Regions from separate parts of the Homo sapiens genome. Here all the other regions are linked to region 4. Evidence: promoter capture Hi-C in 16 types of primary human blood cells and fetal thymus (Javierre and others, 2016). All regions are on one chromosome and are shown on one strand. The core of a region is centred on a gene start or on the middle of the fragment in contact, and the rest is flanking DNA. Distances in the headings are between cores, read along the strand shown. Region 1 overlaps C4orf46 (chromosome 4 open reading frame 46). Region 2 has its middle 7.5 kb from the start of HMGB2. Region 3 overlaps SAP30-DT (SAP30 divergent transcript). Region 4 holds the start of MSMO1 (methylsterol monooxygenase 1). Region 5 holds the start of RAPGEF2 (Rap guanine nucleotide exchange factor 2).

Evidence for each region. The method cuts DNA at HindIII sites, captures the fragments that hold promoters and counts their contacts. A CHiCAGO score of 5 or more calls a contact.
Region 1: a contact is called between a fragment that was not itself captured here and the fragment with the promoter of MSMO1 in region 4, in 1 of 17 cell types (total CD4 T cells). The highest score is 5.1, in total CD4 T cells.
Region 2: a fragment that was not itself captured here is called in contact with the fragment with the promoter of MSMO1 in region 4 in 1 of 17 cell types (total CD4 T cells); the score reaches 7.5 in total CD4 T cells.
Region 3: a fragment that was not itself captured here is called in contact with the fragment with the promoter of MSMO1 in region 4 in 1 of 17 cell types (naive CD8 T cells); the score reaches 5.4 in naive CD8 T cells.
Region 5: a contact is called between the fragment with the promoter of RAPGEF2 here and the fragment with the promoter of MSMO1 in region 4, in 4 of 17 cell types (non-activated CD4 T cells, total CD4 T cells, fetal thymus and 1 more). The highest score is 11.0, in non-activated CD4 T cells.

Annotation. Positions count from the first base shown.
Region 1 is chr4:158,665,545-158,670,073 of GRCh38, reverse strand. It overlaps C4orf46 (chromosome 4 open reading frame 46), which reads left to right. Exons shown (of 2, transcript NM_001008393.4): 2 at 306-3,399. The coding sequence ends at 461. Among named protein-coding and RNA genes, the nearest start is that of C4orf46, 4.1 kb to the left of the region's middle. The HindIII fragment of the contact is 3,210 bases long and covers 1,012-4,221 here.
Region 2 is chr4:173,324,630-173,329,035 of GRCh38, reverse strand. No RefSeq gene overlaps it. Among named protein-coding and RNA genes, the nearest start is that of HMGB2, 7.5 kb to the left of the region's middle. The HindIII fragment of the contact is 5,987 bases long and covers 1-4,406 here.
Region 3 is chr4:173,346,016-173,350,080 of GRCh38, reverse strand. It overlaps SAP30-DT (SAP30 divergent transcript), which reads left to right. Exons shown (of 4, transcript NR_183973.1): 4 at 1-850. Among named protein-coding and RNA genes, the nearest start is that of HMGB2, 14 kb to the right of the region's middle. The HindIII fragment of the contact is 4,926 bases long and covers 1-4,065 here.
Region 4 is chr4:165,325,933-165,329,992 of GRCh38, reverse strand. MSMO1 (methylsterol monooxygenase 1) reads right to left here and starts at 2,324. Exons shown (of 6, transcript NM_006745.5): 1 at 2,229-2,324. RefSeq lists an enhancer at 2,026-2,295 and a silencer at 2,386-2,725. The HindIII fragment of the contact is 2,277 bases long and covers 1,492-3,768 here.
Region 5 is chr4:159,100,380-159,104,876 of GRCh38, reverse strand. RAPGEF2 (Rap guanine nucleotide exchange factor 2) reads right to left here and starts at 1,798. Exons shown (of 30, transcript NM_001394067.2): 1 at 646-1,798. The coding sequence starts at 714. RefSeq lists silencers at 659-1,078, 1,046-1,340, 1,089-1,378, 1,419-1,638, 1,769-2,308 and an enhancer at 1,957-2,648. The HindIII fragment of the contact is 5,553 bases long and covers 1-4,275 here.

The DNA.
Region 1 (4,529 bases), core at 1,367-3,866, 6.7 Mb after region 4:
CCAGCCTGGGAAACGAGCGAAACTCCGTCTCAAAAAAAAAAAAAAAAAAAGAAAACAACTATACTGATTTGTCATATCTCAGACATAATGGATATTTTTCTAGCAGACCTGTTTCTTCAAAGTCTACTCAATATTAAAGAATTTCTTAGGTTCCGTGAAAGAGCCAGTGCTGTAGTTTGAAAACTGATTACTTTGAAAGAAAATAACATGGGCATTGGATTCAAAGCCTTAAGCTATTTTCAGCCTGCTTATAAAATGAGATGAGAATTTTAAAAATAAAATTATGTTTGACTTTTTTTTTTTAGGCAGCCTTTTCATTAACCAAACTTCTTGAAGCCACATCTGCAGTATCAGCTCAAGTGGAAGAACTTGCCTTCAAATGTACAGAAAATGCACGTTTCCTTAAAACGTGGCGGGACCTCTTGAAAGAAGGCTATGATTCTTTGAAACCTGATGACTGATTTGGCATACTTCGTTGTTTAATAATGACTGCAATAATTCATACTTCTTATGTCATATTTTGTACATGTACCACACATATAGGATGACCTCTGTCCAGCAGTTCTGTATATACTCAGAATGAAATTTTTCTTGGTTTTCTTGGTTTTTGTGAAAGCAGAATACCGATGCTATTTTTGTTGCGGACCAGTACTTGTTTGTCCTTAAATACTTTATGCCTCTGAACTTTCATAGAATCCTTTATGAAAGTTAACTTCATCAATAGACGGTTAATATTAATAGAGCCACAGTGCTACCAGTAGCAAACTAGGTAGACCATTATTTGTTTTGCAACAAGATGCTAAGCATGGCAGACTTTGAAGTTGCGTTTCATCTTAAGGACCAAGGGAGGTAACTTTAAGGTTGCCAGTGGTGGATCCAGCTCCGTTAGGCTAAGTTGTCTACAGCTAATGATTGTGTCTTTATTCTATATCCCCAGCACCTAAAACAGGGTCACACAACATTCACTAAATGTTTGTTGAATAAAAGAGTTAACAAACATAATTGAAAGCTTTTTTTCTTCCTATATTTAGCATGAAGACTGTCATTGTTTCTCTAGGAAATGTATGAATCTGAACTTTTTTGACTTGAAGAAAAACATTCTTTTTTTACAGAGATTTGGACTTTGATGATAGGTTTTAAAAATATATGATAAATATTTTTTGTACTTGTTTGATTTTTTTTTTAAAGACTTTACTTCAGAAAGGGAAAGACTGTTTAGAAAGAATGCATATTTTTTCCCTATTTATTTCTGTGGTTACTGCTTTTGCAGTTTAACAGTGTTTGTATTTGATATTTGTATATGTTTGATTGCTATCTTTAAAGTGCCTTATCAGATTTATGGCTCTGTGCTATTACTTTTTGAGCTTTGCAAGTTGTGTACATAATAATTCTAAAGAAGTTACTTTGTTTGCAATGCATCAAATTTAAATGATGTGATTTTTTTTGTATTATTTGATCTTAGTGACAGTGTTCTATTTTGCATCCTGTATCTTATGTTGCTTTTGGTGTTTTGTGTTGTGTGTCAACGATTAAGCCAACTAATTCTCTACCATATATAACTTCTGGACATTTTTGATACAACATCTTAATTCTTTGTAGATATGGAGATAGGTACAGAACTATATTCTAATGCCCCACAATGGGGCTATGAGAGGGGACAGATGGATGGGCAAAGAATAGTTTTGTTTAACATATTAGGTCATAGTTCTTGATTAGTTTTTTTAGTTAAAGATAAACACATAGGGTGTGATTTCTATACCAAAGATATGCTTATTTCAGTATTAGAAAAATATTCTTCTTACATCTCCTGAAAATTGCAATTTTTAAAATGTGTAAAAATAAATTATTATTAAAAGCACATTTTATTTCCATTTGTTTGGATTCATTACCTTAAAACTTTATTGACATATTTCAAAGATATAGGAAAGGTAAATGATTTCAAGAAAATCCGTGTATTTCTACCATGCAGATGTAATAAATGTTAGCATTTGGCTATATTTTCTTCAGACACACATATGCATGTAATTGCAAATGTTAGATACATTTGAAGTTTGCTTTGTTACCTGTTTGATCCTGTCCCGTTCCTCCCTCCCCAGAGTCCCCAGAGGTAACCACTAGAGGGGGCATAATATAGCATGTGTTTTTATATTTTTAATACAAATATATTTTTTAAAAGCGCTACAAAATATTGTTTTATATATGTGGTAGCCAGCTTCCAGATGGCCCCAGTGATCCCTGGCCTCCTGGTGTTCATGCCCCAGTATAGCCTTCTCCTGCATTTTACAGTGCTGACTTTTGTAACTACCAGGATATTGAGCAAATGCAGTGTGTGATTTCTGAGGCCATATCTTTTACTCTTTTTTTTTTTTTTAAGAGACAAGATCTCACTCTATTGCTCAGGCTGGAGTGTGGTGGCAGGATCATAGCTCACTGTAACCTTAAACTTGGACTCAAACAATCCTCCCATCTCGCCTCCTCCTATAAAGCACTGGGATTACAGGCATTTTTGCTCATTTTTCTATGTTGTTTTTTTTACTTGTCAGTTTTTAGATATTACATATTTTGAATACTAATGATCTGTTATGTATGTTCCAATTATCTTTTTTAGTCTGGTTTGTCTTCATATTTTGGTTATGAAATCTTGAATTTTTAAAAACGTAATTTTACCAATCTTTCATAATGATTTGCTTTTTCTGGTTTTTGTATAGGAAATGTCATAAAAATAGTCCTATTCAGCCTTCCAAAAGTTACAAAATTTTTGTTTTTAACATTTAGATGTTTAGTCCAACTGAAATTTGTTTTCTTTTATGGCATGATTTTGGAATCTTGTTTTAATTATTTTTACATATTTATAGCTGTTCCTCCAAGTATCAATTTTTCAAGTGCAACATCTGTCATGCAGTTACTATGTAAGGGCCAGATTCTGACCTTTCTGTTCTTTTTATCTGAAGGAAATTTGAACATGCCACCCCCAAATATGCCGATTTGGCATACTGATTATTTCGAGCTAAAGGTGCTTGACTAACAGTAGTTGCAGAAATGGCTATTTTAACTGTCCTTTCCTACCTGTAGCAAGCCATACAAACTTCTTTGATAAAGATGCTTTCCTGATACCAAGATGAGAAGATGGCTCTAATCAGCTGAGACAGCACCAGAGGAATCTACAAACAAGAAACTATTAGTTTCTTAACATATATTTACCTTCCACAGTTTCTGCCTCTGGAAGCCTAAAACTGCTTTCCTTCGTCTTGTCACACTTCTCTGAAATGTATTCTTTGTGGAAGATGCTATATAGTCCAGAGTTGTAAGCCACTACTTGTGTTTACCTTTTCATTGAGTTTTCTCCTGTGTGATGTACGTTGCATATATTAATAAAATTACTTGTTTTTCTCTTGTTAATCTGTCTTTTGTTATAGGGATCTGTCCCAACTGTGAACTTATGAGGCTTGAGGAGAAATTGTATTTCCTCCACTACAGATTTATTTGCTTAACTCCATGCTAAAACTCAATTTGTCTTTCCCTGTAAGAAAAGAAAAAACATGTTACTGATTTCTAATTCTATTGAGTTATGTCAGCTTAGGACAACTGCTGGTGTCAGGTAGTGAGCTTTCTATGGGCACTTTAAGAGTTTACAAAGTGACCTTTTTACATTTCTGTTTGCTTTATGGGAGAGGTTGGGGAAGAGCTGAAAGCGTAAATATTTCCTCAAAGACTTAATAATTTTTTTTAAACGTAGTAAACGGTCCATTACCAGCCCTACAAAAACCCCAAAGGAATGATGTAAATTTTTTTTTGAGACAAATTCTTACTCTGATGCCCAGGCTGGAGTGCAGTGGTGTGATCTTGGCTCACTGCAACCTCTACTGCCCGGTTCAAGCGATTCTCCTGCCTCAGCCTCCCTCGCTGGGATTACAGGTGCACGCCACCACATCCGGCTGATTTTTGTATTTTTAGTAGAGATGGGGTTTCACCATGTTGGCCAGGCTGGTCTTGAACCCCTGACCTCAGGTGATTCTTCTGCCTTGGCCTCTCAAAGTGCTAGGATTACAGGCATGAGCCACTGTGCCGAGCTTATGTAAATTTTTTAGACTCGAGACTAAAGTCAGTAAGATGAAATTGTTAACATAAAAAAAAATGTGTTATGTTTCAAAAATTCTGAGTTTGAAAGATGTGCCAGGTACTATATTAAGAGCTTTATGATGGGGCACGGTGGCTCAAGCTTGTAATCCCTGTATGTCCGGAATTGGTGGTTCTTGGTCTCGCTGACTTCAAGAATGAAGCTGCGGACCCTCGCAGTGAGCGTTACAGTTCTTAAAGATGGTGTGTCCGGAGTTTGTTCATTCAGATGTTCAGATGTGTCCGGAGTTTCTTCCTTCTGGTGGGTTTGTGGTCTCGCTGACTTCAGGAGTGAAGCTGCAGACCTTCACGGTGAGTGTTACAGCTCTTAAAGGCGGCACGTCTGGAATTGTCCGTTCCTTCTGGTGGGCTCGTGGTCTCACTGGCTTCAGGAGTGAAGCTGCAGACCTTCG
Region 2 (4,406 bases), core at 1,496-3,995, 8.0 Mb before region 4:
TCTCGGCTCACTGCAAGCTCCGCCTCCCGGGTTCACGCCATTCTCCTGCTACAGCCTCCCAAGTATCTGGGACTACAGGCGCCCACCACCAAGCCTGGCTAATTTTTTCTATTTTTAGTTAGAGAACACTTGCTGGGTATGGTGGCTCACGCCTATAATCCCAGCACTTTGGGAGTGTGAGGTGGGAGGCTCACTTGAGCCCAGGAGTTTGAGACTAGTCTAGTCAACATAGACCTTGTTTCTACCAAAAATACAAAAATTAGCCGGGCATGGTGGTGCATGCCTGTGGTCCTGGCTATTTAGGAGGCTGAGGTGGATCACTTGAGCCTGGGATGTCTAGGCTATAATGAGCTGTGATCATGCCATCGCACTCCAGCCTGGGCAACAGACCAAGACTTGGTCTGAAAAAAACGAAACCATTTGATGTCACATGTGAAAAAAGACCTACAAGTGAAGTAGGTGGGCCAAAAGACATGCACATTTAAAAATGTGCTAACTATACTAGCTAAAACCTGTGCTTAATATATGCCAGAAACTGCTCTGGTGCTGTTAATGGAGCCTGCTAAACAAAACTGCTTCTCAACAATAGAAGTTGTACTACGCTATGGAGTGGACACTCCATAGCAATGAAATGTTTTGGAGTGCCTGTTTCCTCATCTCAGCAACATAATAGTTCTCAAACTTCTTAGTCTTTGTTATTCTGATATAGATAAAATGTTTTCTATTATGAGTTTCATTTTTTTTTTATGTTTAACAGCCATTTGTGGGGCTGAGTGCAGTGGCTCATGCCTGTAATCCCAGCACTTTAGGAGGCCGAAGCAGGCGGATCACTTGAGGTCAGGAGTTCAAAACCAGCCTGGCCAACATGGTGAAACCCTGTCTCTACTAAAAATACAAAAACATTAGCCGGGTGTGGTGATGGGCACCTGTAATCCCAGCCACTTGGGAGGCTGAGGCAGGAGAATCGCTTGAACCCGGGAGGCAGAGGTTTGCAGTGAGTAGAGATCACGCCACTACACTCCAGCCTGGGTGACAAGAGCAAGACTCTGTCTCAAAAAAAAAAAAAAAAAAAAAAAAGCCATTTGTATTCTTTCCTGTGGTCTTTTCTCACTGGTCTTTTTATTAATAGTTTTTGGGAATACTATATATTAAGGAAAATGACCCTTTTGACTTTATGATGCTTTTTTCATGCAGAGATTTCTTTATGTAGGCAAATTTAGCAATTCTTTCACTAAAACTTTTCTAGTGAGGTCCTTCCCACTCAAAGATCATAAAAGACTATAAAAATAATTATCCTTTGGTTTCTTTTTTTAAATTTTTGATTACATCTTTGATCCTTCTGGAATTAATTTTGGTGCAAGGACTGAGGTAGGGGCTCACGTTTCCTTCCCGATGTCAGCCACTACTTTTGGTCTTTTAATCTATAAAAGCAGGGCACTGGGTTAGAATTTCCTAAATTCTCTTATATATCAAACAAAGCACTCACTGCAAACTTGATCAATAGAGGAAAGTATGCTTTTTTTGTATTTTACCTTTTACCAGTTTCACTTACTGTAAATCATAAGGTTGTCTTACATAGTAGAAAAATAGCATTATCTTAAACCTGGCTTTTTATTACTAAATATATCACTAAAAATGCTTTACAAAGCAGTAATGATTTTATTTCTTGGGGAATAAAATCAAGAAAGCTAAAGGAGCTGCTATGCCACTGTGTAAGATCTAGTCCTTTAAAAATGAAATTTCATACCTCACCATGTTTGGATTAGTTCTTCATGAGATTCCTGTTGGAGACTGACAGTTTTAGAGAAAGGCAGAGTATTTATTGACATTAGGAAATGCCAAGACCTATAGAGACTAGCCAGGGAAAAGGACTGGATGTGGTGAAGTGAAGAACATTTTGAAAGTAAGCTCTGTGAGGGCAGTAAAATTTTCACTTTTGTATACTGCTTTGTCTCTAATGCAAGAAACAGTGTTCTAAGCATGTTTGTAAATATACAAATACCCAGGTTAAAGGGGATAGCCACTGTTTAGCTCAGTCCTGTTGCTAGATGGAAATGTGAATATAGGATTCCCAGATCTCTCAAATTTTCAAGTGGAACTAGAACTCGTGAATTCTGAATTTTAAATACAGTATTGGCAATGAATTCCAATTTTGGGGTCAAAACATGTCTATAGGTAAGATTCTGCCCAAAGGTCACCAGTTTGCCACTTCTATAAATTAAATAGTAAATATAAGTGTAATAATTTTTACTTGAGTCAGGTCCAAGGTTAATAAAAGTTTATATATGCCTTACAGCTAACCATTGTTTTTATAGGTCAGAAACCCTTCTTGCCCTGATTGGAAACTCAACTTACCCTGCAGCAAAGGTAAATAAAAATGTTTCAATTGAACTTCATTGTGCTCCTGGGCCTTTATTCTTCAAGAGTTAACAGTGCAGACTTCTGGTGATCCTCATCCTAGGTGTTACCACATCTATAGAATAGTAACTCAGGAGTGCAATAGACTGTCGCATTAAAAGGAAAGAAAAATAACTTTTCAGCATTATGTAGCACTAAATTTTGGAACTGGAAATGGCCTTTATATCATCTAGTCTTTCATTAGAAAAGCAGGACAATCAACTTGGACATTGTCCTCGGGCAGATAAGAGATAGTAAAATACCATAATCCATTCATATTTGTGTAATTCTTTGATTCTCCAAATTTTTTCCAAAAAATATTAATGGCTTATACAAAGAAAAACAAGAACAAAATATACAAAGAAAAAAACAAGGTTATGAAAGAAATTAAAAGCAAGGTAGTGAATCACGGATTTGAATAGGGCTCTGTTTTTCTTACTGGTTTTGTAACATCAGACAACTCATGTAACATTTCGGTTTCCTCATCTGTAAAATTTGAATGTTTTTGAGGATTAAGTAAAGTAATACATTTAAGACACTTATCCTGGTGGCAAGAAATAGTAAATGCTCGATAAATATTAGCTAAAAGTATATATGCCGATATACATGGGTTAATACAGATACTACGATGGAGTATTAGATAAAGTTCTAGCTCACTGCAGCCTTCACCTTCCAGACTCAAGCGATTCTTCTGCCTCAGCCTCTCAAGCAGCTGGGACCACAGATGTGTGCCACCACACATGGCTATGTTGCCCAGGCAGGTCTTAAACTCCTGGACTCAAGCAGTCCTCTCCCCTTGGCCTCCCAAAGTGCTGCGATTACAGGTGTGAGCCACTGTTCCAGCCCTGAGGTTCTTGATAGTCTAGGTAGAGAGGAAAATTAAAGAAGTTATGTGGAAAACATACATTCTTTAGGAGAGTTTTTCCTGGCACCAAATAAATATTCATCCCACAGAGTTAGAGGGATATTGAGTACTGGACTTGATTATGTCCTTGACCCCAGTACTAAATTTGTGAACTTGGACAAGTTATTTAACCTATCATGTATAAATGTATTAACATACTGTATGTTTACTTTTAGTCACTTTTGAGATTGATAAAAAGTGCTGAATAAAGTGTTTTGGGAAGTGCCTTTTTCATTCAATCCTGTACACCTAAAACTTGTTTATAACAACTAGTTTATTCATATTCATCTCTGTAATATTCCATTGTGTGATTATATCACAATTCATCCTTTCTCCTGTCAATGGGCATTTAGGTTGCTTCCAGGGTTTTCGCTATTGCAAATGGCTGTGGTATAAAAATTCCTGTATAGCTCTCCTGACACTCAAGCGTACTTCCCCTCCAATAACCTGGATTGTAGATTCTAGCTGTTTCAGCAGCCGGAAACCTCCACTCCGCCTCCTCAGTTCAGCAATACCACCATTCTGAGCCGCATTCCTTGCACCATGGTTGGGAATGTCCTCCCATGGAGACAGACATGGTGAACCTGGGATTCACCTTGTGTATTTCCTTTCTTTTAGATATCAGTCTGCTTTGACTAGTATCCAATTCCTGAAAACAGTTGCTTCATATATTTTGTCCAGCATTAACTGTTGTTTGGGGTAGCAAGATAAGTCCACTTAAAATTATAGCCGGAAGTGGAAGTCTATTCATCCCTATTTTCTATTCAAATATTTAGTTTTGTTTCGGTTAGTTAATTCTTAATACAGCTGTGGTTTATTTGCTCAAACCAAAAGCCCAAGAGAAATTTCATTTAAAGGTAATTTGAAGGATACAATATCTTAGATATTCTTCAAGATGCACTTATCACATCACAGTTTCATAATGCTCAACACTTCTTAAAGTGCTTTCACATGGAATAATTTTCACGTACCTAAACTATTGGCCTATTAGGTATCTGGCTTTCTGGTGAGGTACTTGTCATGTTTTCCATTGAATTATATATGGATTTTTTTCCCAATTATGTCCAGAAATGAAATATATTCCAAGATCCCTATGAGAAACTTA
Region 3 (4,065 bases), core at 507-3,006, 8.0 Mb before region 4:
TATTATAGTTTTTAAAATTAAACTTTTACTCTTAATTGCATATTGTCATACAGTTGTAAGAAGCATTACAGAGAGACACTGTGTCTTTACCCCATTTTCTCCAATGACAATATTTTGCAAAACTGTAGTACAGTATCATAACCAGGAATTGACATTGATACAGTCAAGATACAGAACATTTCCATCACCACAAGGATCCCTCAAATTGCCCTTTTATTGCCTCACCCACTCCCTCCCGTCCCCACTGCCTTCTGAACACCTGGCAACCACTAAGCTGTTCTTTATTTCTATAATTTTGTCATTTCAAGACAAAATATACAAAAAGGCATGGGCTTATATAGTATGTAACCTTTGGAATTTTTTTTCTTTTTTGAGACGGAGTCTCGCTCTGTCGCCAGGCTCGAGTGCAGTGGTGCGATCTCAGGTCACTGCAGTCTCCACCTCCCGTGTTGAAGCAATTATCCTGCCTCAGCCTCCAGAGTAGCTGGGACTACAGATGTGCACCACCACACCCAGCTAATTTTTGTATTTTTAGTAGAGATGGGGTCTCACCATGTTGGCCAGGATGGTCTTGATCTCCTGACCTCATGATTTGCCCGCCTCAGCCTCCCAAAGTGTTGGGTTACAGGCATAAGCCACTGTGCCTGGCCTGGAATTTTTTTTTCCCCCACTCAATGTAACTCCCTGAAGATTCATCCAGGCTGTTGCATGTATCAGTAATTTGTTCCTTTTTATTGCTGAGTAGTATGGTATGGATTTAGAACAGTTTGTTTAGCCATTCACCCAGTGAAGGACATCTGGGTTGTTTCTAGTTTGGGGATATTATGAATAAAGCTGCTATAAACATTAATGTATAGGTTTTTGTGAAAATGTAAGTCTGTATTTTTCTTTCTTTTTTTCTCCCTACTTACCTTTGGAGAAAGTCCTTCATTTTTCTGAGGTAAATTTCCAAGAGTACAATTGCTGGGCTGTGGGGCAGTTTCATGTTTAGGTTTTTAAGAAATTGCAAACTATTTTCCACAGTGGCTGTATCATTCTACATTCCCAGCAGCAATGCATGAGTGATCCAGCTTCTCTGCATCCTTGCCAGTATTTGGTGTTGTCACTATTTTTATTTTATCCAATCTGATAGGTGTATGGTGATATGGCATTGTGTTTTAATTTGCATTTTCCTAATTGCTAATGATGTTGAATATCTCATTTGCTTATGTGCCATCTGTAAACCATCTATGGTAAGTTTTTGTTCATGTCTTTTTTTTATTTTCTAATTGGACTTTTATTGAGTTTTGAGAGTTCTTTATATATTACAGATATTAGTTCCTTGTCAGATATGTGGTTTGCAAGTATTTTCTTCTAGTCTGTAATTTGCCTTTTACTACTCCTAATGCTTTTCACAGAGGAAAATGTATTAGTTTAGATAAAGTTCAGTTTTTCCTTACATAGATCATGCTATTGCCGTATGTTAAGTCTAAGAACTCTTTCTTTATGCTTGTATCCCAAAGATTTTCTCCTATGTTTTGTCTAAAAGTCTTGTAGTTTTACATTTTACATTTAAGACTATTATCTATTTTGAGTTAATTTTTGTGTAAGGTGTGAGACTTAGGTTTAGTTTATACACTTCTTTATTACAATAACTGTCTTTTATCAGTTGTAGATAAATCTTGGCTATTATATCTTCAAATATACCTTTCCCCTATTTTCTCTCTTTACTTTCTATGACTGGAGTTACATGAATGTAAGAAATCACACTGTTGCATTTATTTCTGATGGTCTTTTTTGTAGTTTGCACTTTCCCATTTCTCTGTGCTTCTGTTTTCTACTTATCTACCTTCCTTTTCTTATACCAGCAGCTCTGTTTACCTTTTTAAAAAATAATGCTCACTCTTCCTTTTATTCATACTGTCTTTCTAGGATTATTTTCCTTCTTCCTGAAGTACATAATTTAGTAGTCCCTTTAGGGCTAGTATGTTGATAGTCTCTCAATTTTCCTTAAAATTTTTATTTGCCCACATAGCTTTTCTGAGACAAGGTCTTGCTCTATTGCTCAGGCTGGAGTGCAGTGGGATGAGATCGTAGCTCACTGCAGCCTCAATCTCCTGGGCTCAAATGACCCTTCTGCCTCAGTGTCATGAGTAGATGAGACTACAGGTGCCTTCCATCATGCCCAGCTGACATTTGTATTTTTTGTAGAGATGAGTGCCCCATTATGTTTCCCAGGCTGGTCTTGAACCCCTGGCCTCAAGCAGTCCTCCCACCTCAGCCTCCCAGATTGCTGGGATTACAGACCTGAGCCACCACACCTGGCCTGCTCATAGTCTTGCAGTTCAAGAATGGCAGTTATTTTCTCTCAGCACTTTATATTATAGGTATTTTTCCACTGTTTTCCAGCTTCCACTGTTGCTGCTGAGAAGTCTGCCATCAGTATAACTGTTTTCCTTTGTAGGTGAGCTTTCTTTTCTCTCTTGCTTCTTTTAAAATTATTTTTTGGGCTGGGCATTGTGGCTCTTTTAAAATTATTTTTTGGGCTGGGCATGGTGGCTCACACCTGCAATCCCAGCACTTTGGGAGGCCTAAGCGGGCAGATCACCTGAGGTCAGGAGTTTGAGACCAGCCTGGCCAACATGGTGAAACCCCATCTCTACTAAAAATACAAAAATTAGTTGGGTGTGGTGGTGCACACCTGTAACCCCAGCTACTCTGGAGGCTGAGGCACAAGAAATCACTTGAGCTCAGGAGGGAGAGGTTGCAGTGAGCCAAGATGGTGCCACTGCATTACCGTCTGGGCGACAGAGCAAGACTTTTTCTCAAGAAAAAAAACATATATATATATATATATATATATATATATATACATACACACATATATATTTGACATCTGCAAGTTCACCTTGAAGTTATTGTGGATTTCTTTTTATTAAGCTACTTGGGTTACTTTATGCTTCCTAAATTTGAATTCATATCATTCACTGTGAAAAAAATGCATCAAAAATACTAAAATAGTGCCACTTTGTGCTTTTCTCTATTTCCTTTTTCTAGGACTAATTAAACATATTGCAATATTGATAAACATTATTCTATTTCCAATGTTTCTGTTTTATTTTTAAAATATTGTTCATCTCATTCTTCTGTGATTCAGTCTAATTTCTTCAGCAAAATATGTTAATTTTATTTTTAGCTTTATCTCATCTGTGTAGCTCATTCATTAAAATTTCAACAACTATGTTTTTTTCTTTCTCAAAGATCCATTTGGTTGTTTTCAGAACTTTTTTGTCATTCCTGATAGATACCTGTTGCTTCCTCATCTTTCTAATTTCATCCTTTTTCTTATTAAAAATGTTTGTATTCTGAATCTAACAATTGTAAATATCTGAATTCCTTGGGTGTTCAATGGTGGCTTGCTTCTTCACGTGCCTGGTCATCTCTAATTTTGTACTTATATTTATTCCATCAATCTGTGATATTTCTAAAGTAAGATGCTTTCCCTCAGTAAGGATTTCCATCTGTTTCTGCCAAGAGACAAAGTATGCTACCATTTTAGTTTCTTTAAGGAGTCCCAGCTTAATGTAGTATCCAGTTTGGTTTCCTTTCCTTTTTGTGGGCCTATAGGTAAAGATTACAATTCAAACTTCTGCTTTGGGCATTTGTTTTCATGGCTAATTTGCTTCCCAGGTTTACTTACCACTCAAATTACCATGCCTGAGTCTAGCTGATGATTGGTATCCCTACCAATCCTCATCCTCCGCCCCCACCCTCTGACTTATTTTGGTGTCAAGGAAAATTCCTTAGATATTTTTCCCATTTTCTGTCATCCTAGGAATGCAGTAAAAATCTATTTAGAACTAATTTTGAGGGGATCATAAAAATATCTGAGTATCTAGGTCACCAAAGTGATGAAAGCTGCAATCATACATCACTCTGTTACATGGAAAGACAGAAAAAAAGAAAAAAGGCCAGCTTGGAATCTGAAGACTGCTTTCAAATAAAATCACTGCCTTTCATTAATTCGTTCATTCATTCTGATTCAAACTTACAGGGATTTATGTACCAAATGCTTTATTAAGGGAG
Region 4 (4,060 bases), core at 1,075-3,574:
CAATCTGCATTCTATTGTCATCACTGCACTGAACTTACTCTTACTAAAATCACTAAGGAGGCTGGGTGTGGTGGCTTACGCTGGTAATCCCAGCACTTTGGGAGGCTGAGGTGGGCGGATCACAAGGTCAGGAGTTCCAGACCAGTCTGGCCAATATGGTGAAACATCTCCACCAAAAAAATACAAAAAAATTAGCCGGGTGTGGTGGCGTATGCCTGTAATTCCACCTACTGGGGAGGCTGAGGCAGGAGAATTGCTTGAACCCGGGAGGCTGAGGTTGCAGCGAGCAGAGATCACGACACTGCATTCCAGCCTGGGCGACAGAGTGAGACTCCGTCTCAAAAAAAAAAAAAAAAAAAAAAAAAAATCGCTATGGATCTCCAGCTGCCAAATCCAATAAACCTTTTTTTTTTTTTTTGGAGTTTATTTGACTAATCTGGAAGATTTGATACTTCTCTTCTTGAAATACCGCCTTTCCTTGGTTCTTGGAACTTAAATGCATTCACTCTGACAAGTATTGTGCATTCATTGTGCTAGCTGGTGCCCTTACCCCTGAGTTCATAAAACATAAAATTTAGTGAGGAATAACAACTAGTGTCCAAACCATCAAAAATTATGTGATAAGAACAATAAAGGGGGGAATACACAGTGCTATGAACTTCTAGAGAAAGGTGCTATCTAAACTGAGACCTAGAACAGGAGAAGGAGGTGACAAATTAAAAAATAGAGTGAGGGAGAGAGGGTCAAGGGAGGGGTTTTGCATAGAGAGAACAGCAACTCCAAAGACTCAACCAGGAGATTAGAAAAAATATGAGAATTGAAGCTGGAAAGTTTCCCAATAATGCCTTCCTTACTCCCTTCTAACGATTCCAGATTGTCTTGGGTGATCTTAACTATTTTCTGTTTTAAAAATATGCTGACATCCATCATCTCTATCTCTAGCCCTCTCCCCTAAACTCCAGGATCTAATTATCCAAGTTTACTGGTCATATCCAGTCAGAGAGTTCAGAGGCACATGAACTCACTCAACAGGTCCAAAGGTTCAGTATGTGCTCCTCACAACCCCCGCCCAAATACTAGGCCTCCTTTAATGCCTAATTCTCAGACATAACGTTTTAAGTCTCTCCCATTCTGCTGCCTTAAGTCTTCAAACTCTTACCCAATTTAGAAACACTTGGTTTAGTTAACATTCAGGAATTTACTTTTCACAAAGGAGCGAGGGAATGGATATACTGTTGCTAACCGAACAAGGAATTAAAGAGGAGAGGGGAAACAAGGTCTTGGAAAATTGAATTTCCTTTTCCTTTACTCATTCTTGGGCAACCTAAATGACTGGAAGCCTGTTCTGGAACAGGTTGACTAGATAAATTTAGTTATTTGTGGATTCTCAGAAACCTTGAAGTTTAGCTGTCAGCCAGTCTCTGTCCTTTGGCACTTTAACACGGATTTCACCAGCTCCTTCATTTTCTGGACTTGCCCTGCCTCCAAGCTTGCCCTTCCTAAACCTTATTTCTAAGATGCAATGCCACGATCTATATAAATTTAAACATCAGAGATAACCTCCTTAAAACACTCAAAGTTCAAGGGAGTGCTTGCCCTAAGCATAAAGATCAAGCCCCGCTGTGATTGATGCACACGAGGCCCTTCCAGACTTCTTCACTCTTCATTTCTTACATTCTCGCCATCCTACACTTCACATTTTTGCAGTATCTGATCACTCATGGTTGCTACTGCTTCATTCCTCTCTGCCCACGGAAATATCGTTCCCTTACAGGTGATGTCCTCCCATTCAACTCCTAGTCATCCTTCAGTAACCTCCTCTCGGACGCCCTTCCCAACCCCACTACTCCCAAAGCACACTACATCTTACCTCCTTCTAGTGGTTCCTGCTTTTGTATAACTTTCGCCAGCCTATCACCCTGTGCTGCAACTATCTTCTACGTCCTGTCTCCCGAAGACAACACATTTTAAAGGGCAAGAAACATGCCCTAGCCTAGTTCCATCACTTAAGAATTTCACTCCGTTTTCATCCTTTCTAGCACGTACCTTAGCCTAGGCCCACCTTCACTCCAGTCTCCTTCCGCCCCGTCTCGGGTACCACTGCCAGCGTCCCGCCCAGCGCGTGCATCCGCACCCAGAACCCGCTCCCCTCGATCTCACGGAGCACCGGGTGGGAGCCCGCCTGCTCCCCCTTCCTCGCTCATGAGCCACTCCTCCAACCCCCTCACCTGAACGGCCGCGAGATGACTGCCGGCCACCGACACCGAGGACTCGCCAGGTGTTCCAACCTCGGAACCTGCCTCGCCTGGCTTGGGGGTGGAGCCGGGTGGGCCAGGCGGCCCGTCCTGTCGTTATTGGCCTGCGAGAGCTCCCGCCCCGCCTTCTCGGCGCGGTGATTGGTCTGTGCAGTTGCCGACATCGTGTGACTCGCGCGAACGAGCTCCTGGCGGTCCCAGCCATTGGCTCCGCGGATGGAGTGAGGATAGTGAGACCTGCAGAGCCAGCCAATGGTCGGCACCGCGGAGCGCCCGGAGGCGGGGAAGCGTGAGAGCGCGCCACGGCGTGAGGGGGCGGGCACAGACGGATGGCCGCCTCGCCCTGCAGCGCGGAGTCGCCTTGGCAACTGCGGTCCCGGCAGATTCCCAGTGAGAGCCTGCGCTGTGCGGGGGAGAGTGTCGCGCCGGCCGCCGTCCCAGGACTTTTATTTCAAATGTGACCTGTGTAGCAACCGCAGTTCCCAAACCCGGGAAGAAGAGAGTATAGATGAGTCTTAAAATCTATGTTGACTGTTTTGTGTTTCCAGACACCCTTGCCTTCCTTTTTCTGGTCTACCATTTAGATTTAGATCTTTCGTCTCCCTTGTTTCCCCAGCCTACGTATCCTTTAATAAATTCCTGCATTTTGAAAACGGAGAATTTCAAATGCGATTATCGTCATTTTGCAGATGAGAAATAAAGGCTGGGAAAGATTTAAAAAGATTGAACATCAAGGGAGAGTTCGGCTCCCAGGACCTTGACCTCGCTACATGGGCAGAGAACGCCCAGGTGTTGTTGCAATTGTTGTGCTGGACGATGAGTGCCCGGGGGCGGGGGCGGGGGCGGGGGCTTGACGCAGGTCTTTGCAGCTCTAAAGCTCAGTTTACACCATCTCTCAACATTAAAATATTGTGTACTGGGGTTTAATAATAAAACTGTACAGATGTGATAATATACTAAAACTTTCACTTAACGGAAGAGGTGCCTTTAAAGAAAAAACCGCACAGGGGCATCATTTGGGCTAGTGAAGGCCCTTTTTCCTCCTTCTTTATTAAGGTATAATTGACAAAAATTGTGTTTACGGCGTACACATGTTTTGATTATGTGTATATTGTGTCAAATATATACAGCTTCTGAAAACAGAATACTATTGTTTCATTCCTCCATGCTTTTGCTCAAACTGGCCCTTCTGCCTGGAATAATCAGCCATCTCCATGCCGCCCCATCAATTCAGGTACTATCTCCTTGAGGAAGTTCCCTCTTGAAAAGTGTCTTTTTTAGATTCAGTGTGACCTGTACTTATTCGTCTATCCCTCATGTTTGGCACACACATTCTTTGTAAAGTATCATGACAGCGGTCACGTCAAATGAAAAGAAATGGGATCTGTCCCTTGGTTGTCAGAGTCAGCCCTGTCTTTAGGATGCCTTTACAGTGGTGTCTGAAACCATGCCTATATACTTTATGAAGTTAATCTGGGAAAAAGGGGTGGGGGGAACGAAATTAAACCAAGCTTGCAGCACACTGAGGATTAATAATTAGGTCAGCTTGCTGTCTGACCCCTTCCTCATAATTGTTTGCCTATTGCTTCAGAATCATGTAGACTCTGTTACAAGGTTATAGTTTCCCCTAACTGCTCTATAGACAACAACTTGAACATTATGAAACGTTAAGTTTGTGCTTTGAGATAACCTTTCAGGTCCTTCGTACTGATGAAACTACTGACTCAGCTGGTCTGACAAGGAGCTGACTCACCAAAGAATGCAGTTCCCACATCCTGATGGTTTCATTCCTCCTTACCCCAGCC
Region 5 (4,497 bases), core at 549-3,048, 6.2 Mb after region 4:
TTCCCTTCAATTGAAAGCAGTATCCTTTAAAAAATAAAAGCAAAACAGTAAACATACAAACACCTCAATGTTTTACTGAAGGTCAGCATGGATTTGTCTTTAGCACAACCGTACAGGTTTCCTCCTATACCTTTCAAACACCACTGAACTCCAAGGGTCACTTGCAAGGGGAGGAACGGATCTGGAGTCAGAGGGAGCAAGAGTCGCTGCCCGAGGGGAGATGAGACTCCATCCCCTGAGATTCAGAGGCCACGGAGGGCGGCTGGGGAGAGGGAAAGCTAGAGAATTCACACATTCACACACATACACACACACACACACACTCTCTCTCTCTCTCTCTCTGTCTCTCCCTCTCTCTCTCTCTCTCTCTCTCTCTCTCTCTCTCTCGGCTGGGCAACATAGTGGGAAAGGTCAGTCATGGGGAGGGAAGAGTTAAGGAGCAGAATGTCAAGGAGAGGGAAAAATAAAACCAGGATAGGCGGAGTAAAAGACTCGGAGGTGGGATGCCTTTGGAAGTTGGGGGTCCTGATGCAAGAAGTGGGGTGCTCGGGGCGAACTGTGTCAGGAAGGAGGTGGGGGGACAGGGGAAGACGCAGCCTGCGAGGCAGAAATCCGGCCAAGGGCAGGCGGCCGCCGCGTTCTCACCTGGGGGGTCCTTTCGGGGGGATTCTTCATCACCGCCTGGCGGAAGCTGTTATCTACGTAGGACGCCATCTCCCCTCTGGGAGCGGGCCGGGGCCGCTCCGCACCCTGGCCGGCCTCCTCCCGGCCCAGCGCCGCTGCTGCCTCCGCCCTGCGCGCTGCGCCCGCCCGCCCGCCCGCGACTAATCAGCCAAACCGCGGCGGCGGCGGCGCGGGGCCCGCGGGGGGGCGGCTCGGCTGGGCCCGGCGGCCGAGAGCGCGGTACAGGCGCGAGGGGCTGGACGCAGCCGGGAGGGTCGCGGCGCCCCTAGGCTGCCGTGCGATGCGGCCCGCAGGCGGAACTCCCCTTCCTCCTCCTCCTCCTCTTCCTCGCCGCTCCGCCGGCTTCCTCCGGCCCTGGCTCGACACGCCTCCCCGGCTCCACTCGGGGGACAGTGGCGGCTCCTCCTGGCCCCAGCGGGCCCGAGTTATTTTTAGGGAGGTACGAGTGGCAGTGGGGAGGGCTGTGGGCAGGCGGAGCCTCCTCCCCCACGGCGCTGAGGGTCGCCCCCTCCTCTCAGGGGCTTGCGCAGCCGCCGCCCAGGGGTCTCCGAGAATCACTTGGATCTTCCGCGTCCCCAGTCCTCGGGCGCCTCGGCCGCCGGTCGGGAGGACGGACCAGGTGGGTCTGGCTCAGGTCCGGGCGCTGCGAAGCCCGATCGCCTCGGCCGCCGCTCCTGGTCTCTGTCTACTGGGCTCGGCCGTCCCTCCCGACTGCTGCTGCATCCCCTCGGGCCGCCCAGCCGCCGCCGCCGCCGCCTCTGCTGCTCGGGCCGCCGCTGTGGGCTCCGCCGCCGCCGCCTCCCCCCATCAGCGCGCCCGGAGCGGAGCTGCCCCGGCGCCGGCGCCGCCGCGGCCAGAGCACCCGGCCCGGGCTGCAGCCCTCCGGCCCAGTCGCTCTCGGCAACTTTGTTCCTCGTCTGCGCGGGGCGGAGGAGGGGGAAGAGGGGGCCGCGGACAGCCCGGGTTCGGACTCCCGGCGCGGGCGTCCGAGGGCCGAAAGCCGAGAGCCGCGCACAGCCCCCTCGGAGAGAGTGTTTGGGAAGCGGCGATTCCCCTCCTCTTCCTCCGCCTCTTCCTCCTCCTGCGCCTTCTCCGGCCGCCGGAGCCGCTCCTCAGGGAGGAAGCGGCCTCTGGGGCTTGTTGCTTTGTGCTGCAACCATGGTGAGGAATGAGTGACAGCGTGGGGGCGAGTCGGCGGCCGCCGCATCATCGGGGGGCGGGGCAGCCCCGTCGCGCCGGGTCCCGCCTCCCCGCTCCCCGCCCGCCAGCGGCCGCGCCCTCGCGTCTGAGCGGCACCTTCGGCGGCGCCCAGGTGAGCAGCGCTCTGGCCGCAAGTGGGTCGCGGAGCCCTCGGCCGGGCTGTCGGGTCCCGCGCGCGGCCTGGACCCGAAGAGGGGGCGCAAGTCCTGGTGCCCCGGAGAGAAGCGCAGGGCTTTCCTCACGCAGTGTCCCCCACTGTCTCACGCCGCGCCCCCTCCCCACACCCGACGCGCCCTACTAGGAGACCCAGCCGCGTCGGGTCGCTGCTCCCCGCCCGCTCCTGGCGCCACGCCGCCGCCCAGGGGCTGAAAGCTAACCTTGGGCAAAAGACCGGCCCACCAGCCCGGGCTGTACTGGGCATTCTTTTTGAGCCCAAGAGTTGCGTCCGAGTTGCTTCTGTGGCGATAAATCCTCTTAGGATTTATTTTGCTTATTTGTAATTTGCTGCACCCTCCCCTGCTTTCCAAGCCCACTCTGGCACCTCAGACAGTAAAATGACCACGAAATTAGGCAGAGAGGTTTCAACACCAGACCCACTACCACCCCTAGACCAACAAACACTCCAGATTTAAAGTTGATCACTCCTTAGCGACAGACCAGGATGGCAAGTTCTGTGACATAATCAGAAACATTTATTGGTAGGTCTGGCTTTGCCTTGGACAGAACAAGCCTCCTCCTCTAGATGCTCAAATTTCCAAACCGGACCCACATGGTGCAGAAACAATACCTCGTCCTTCAAGATGTCACCGCTCCTGCTGATTCCCTCAGCTCCCCCCCACTCCTTGCCCCGGCCACGTAGAGGTGTGTTAAGGTCAGCCCAAGCATCGGGGACCACTCTGCTGTTCTGGTCCCAGGGATTTATTTTTGTTTGCCCCCACCCCCCACAAGTTCTTATTTTGATATCTATAGACACAATGAGTTTTATGTATGAGCTACTGCGTTGAACTTTTCAAACATGATTTTCAACATCTAGTTTAAACACTTGGAATAGATTGTCAGCTAACATTTTGGGGTTCCTTAAGTCACCTGTGTGCACTAAACAGCTTGTGTGACTTCCTAGCAAAGGGACTGTCCCTGCCCAACCTTGTGAAAGGGAATCTGAGTTACAAATTGTATCTGTAGACCTTTTTATATTACTCTTGCTGGAACTGCTTCTCTATATTTCTCTTTCACCTCTTAGTTGAGCGCCAACATCAAATTCTCTATGACATAGGCCACTACCTTGAAAGCAAAGGAACATGAATAAGTGCCAATACAGCTCTGAAAAAAGGAGAGAGGCAGATAAAAGAATTCAAACCCAATGAAGTGAAAAAATATAACTGACATCTCCACCTGGTGTCTAATAGACATCTCAGAATTCACATGTGCAAACCAGGCTCCAGATCTCCTGTCTCAGACACCCACAGCCTTCCCCATCCTCTGTTAATCACATCTACACCATTCTCACTTCCTGGGTGAAAACGTTGACTTCCTTGACTCCTTTCTTTCTGTTATACCTCAAAAGTGTCAGTAAAAATCGTCAGCTCAACCTCCAGAATGCCATATCTGAACTCTAACCTTTATCTACCACTTCTACTGCCATGACCCTGGTGCAATCCAGCATCATGTCTGGCCAGCACTTTGTCATAACCACCCACCTGGTCCCCCTCTTTCTAACCTTGCTTGCCATACAGTTCATTTCCAACACAGCAGCCAAAGTGTGAATTCTTTTCACTCCTTCTCAAATCATTCCTCTGCTTAGCTCCTCATACCACTCAAGGTAAAAGCCAAAGTCTTACCATGGCCTGAATATCCTATGGACCTTTATCTCTCTGACCTCTTCTACTATTCTGTTCCCAAGCACATTAGCCTCCATGTTGTTTCTGAAACAGCAAATTCCAGTCTCATGACCTTTCCATCTGCTGTTCCCTCTACTGCCTGGATTATCTCTCCCCCTCTCCCCACCCCACTTGCACCCACAAAAACAAAAAACAAAAAGAAAAATGCACACACACAACAACCAAAATATAGAATGTTGTTCCTCATTGTCATCATATCTTCATTTGAATGTCACCTTCCCTGTAACTCCATACACTCTGGTTATCTTCGTCGCTTTACTTACCACCTAACATACTGTATATTGTACAGGTGCTTGCCCACTTAGGATGGGGTTACATCCTGAGAAACCATTGTAAGTCGCAAATATTGTAAGTCAGAAATGCATTTAATACCCTGATAAACCCATTATAAAGTGGAAAAATCGAAAGTCAATTTATTGACCATCGTAAATTGAGAACCATCTATACTTATTTATTTTATTTATTGTTTTATCCCTCCACTGTAATGTAAGCTTCTAAGTCAGGGATGTTTGTCCCTTTTATTTACTGCTATATCCTCAACACAAGACAGGCAGCCAACAAATAGGTATTAAATGGATACATGAAGTAGTTCATGTTACCTTGTATTTGTATGAGATTTTTACATACATTATCTCACTTGTGTCCCTGGTTGCGGGGAGAAAACTGGGAGAGGAAACTTAACCTCTCTGAGCCTGTTTTCTGTTTTATAAAAAGA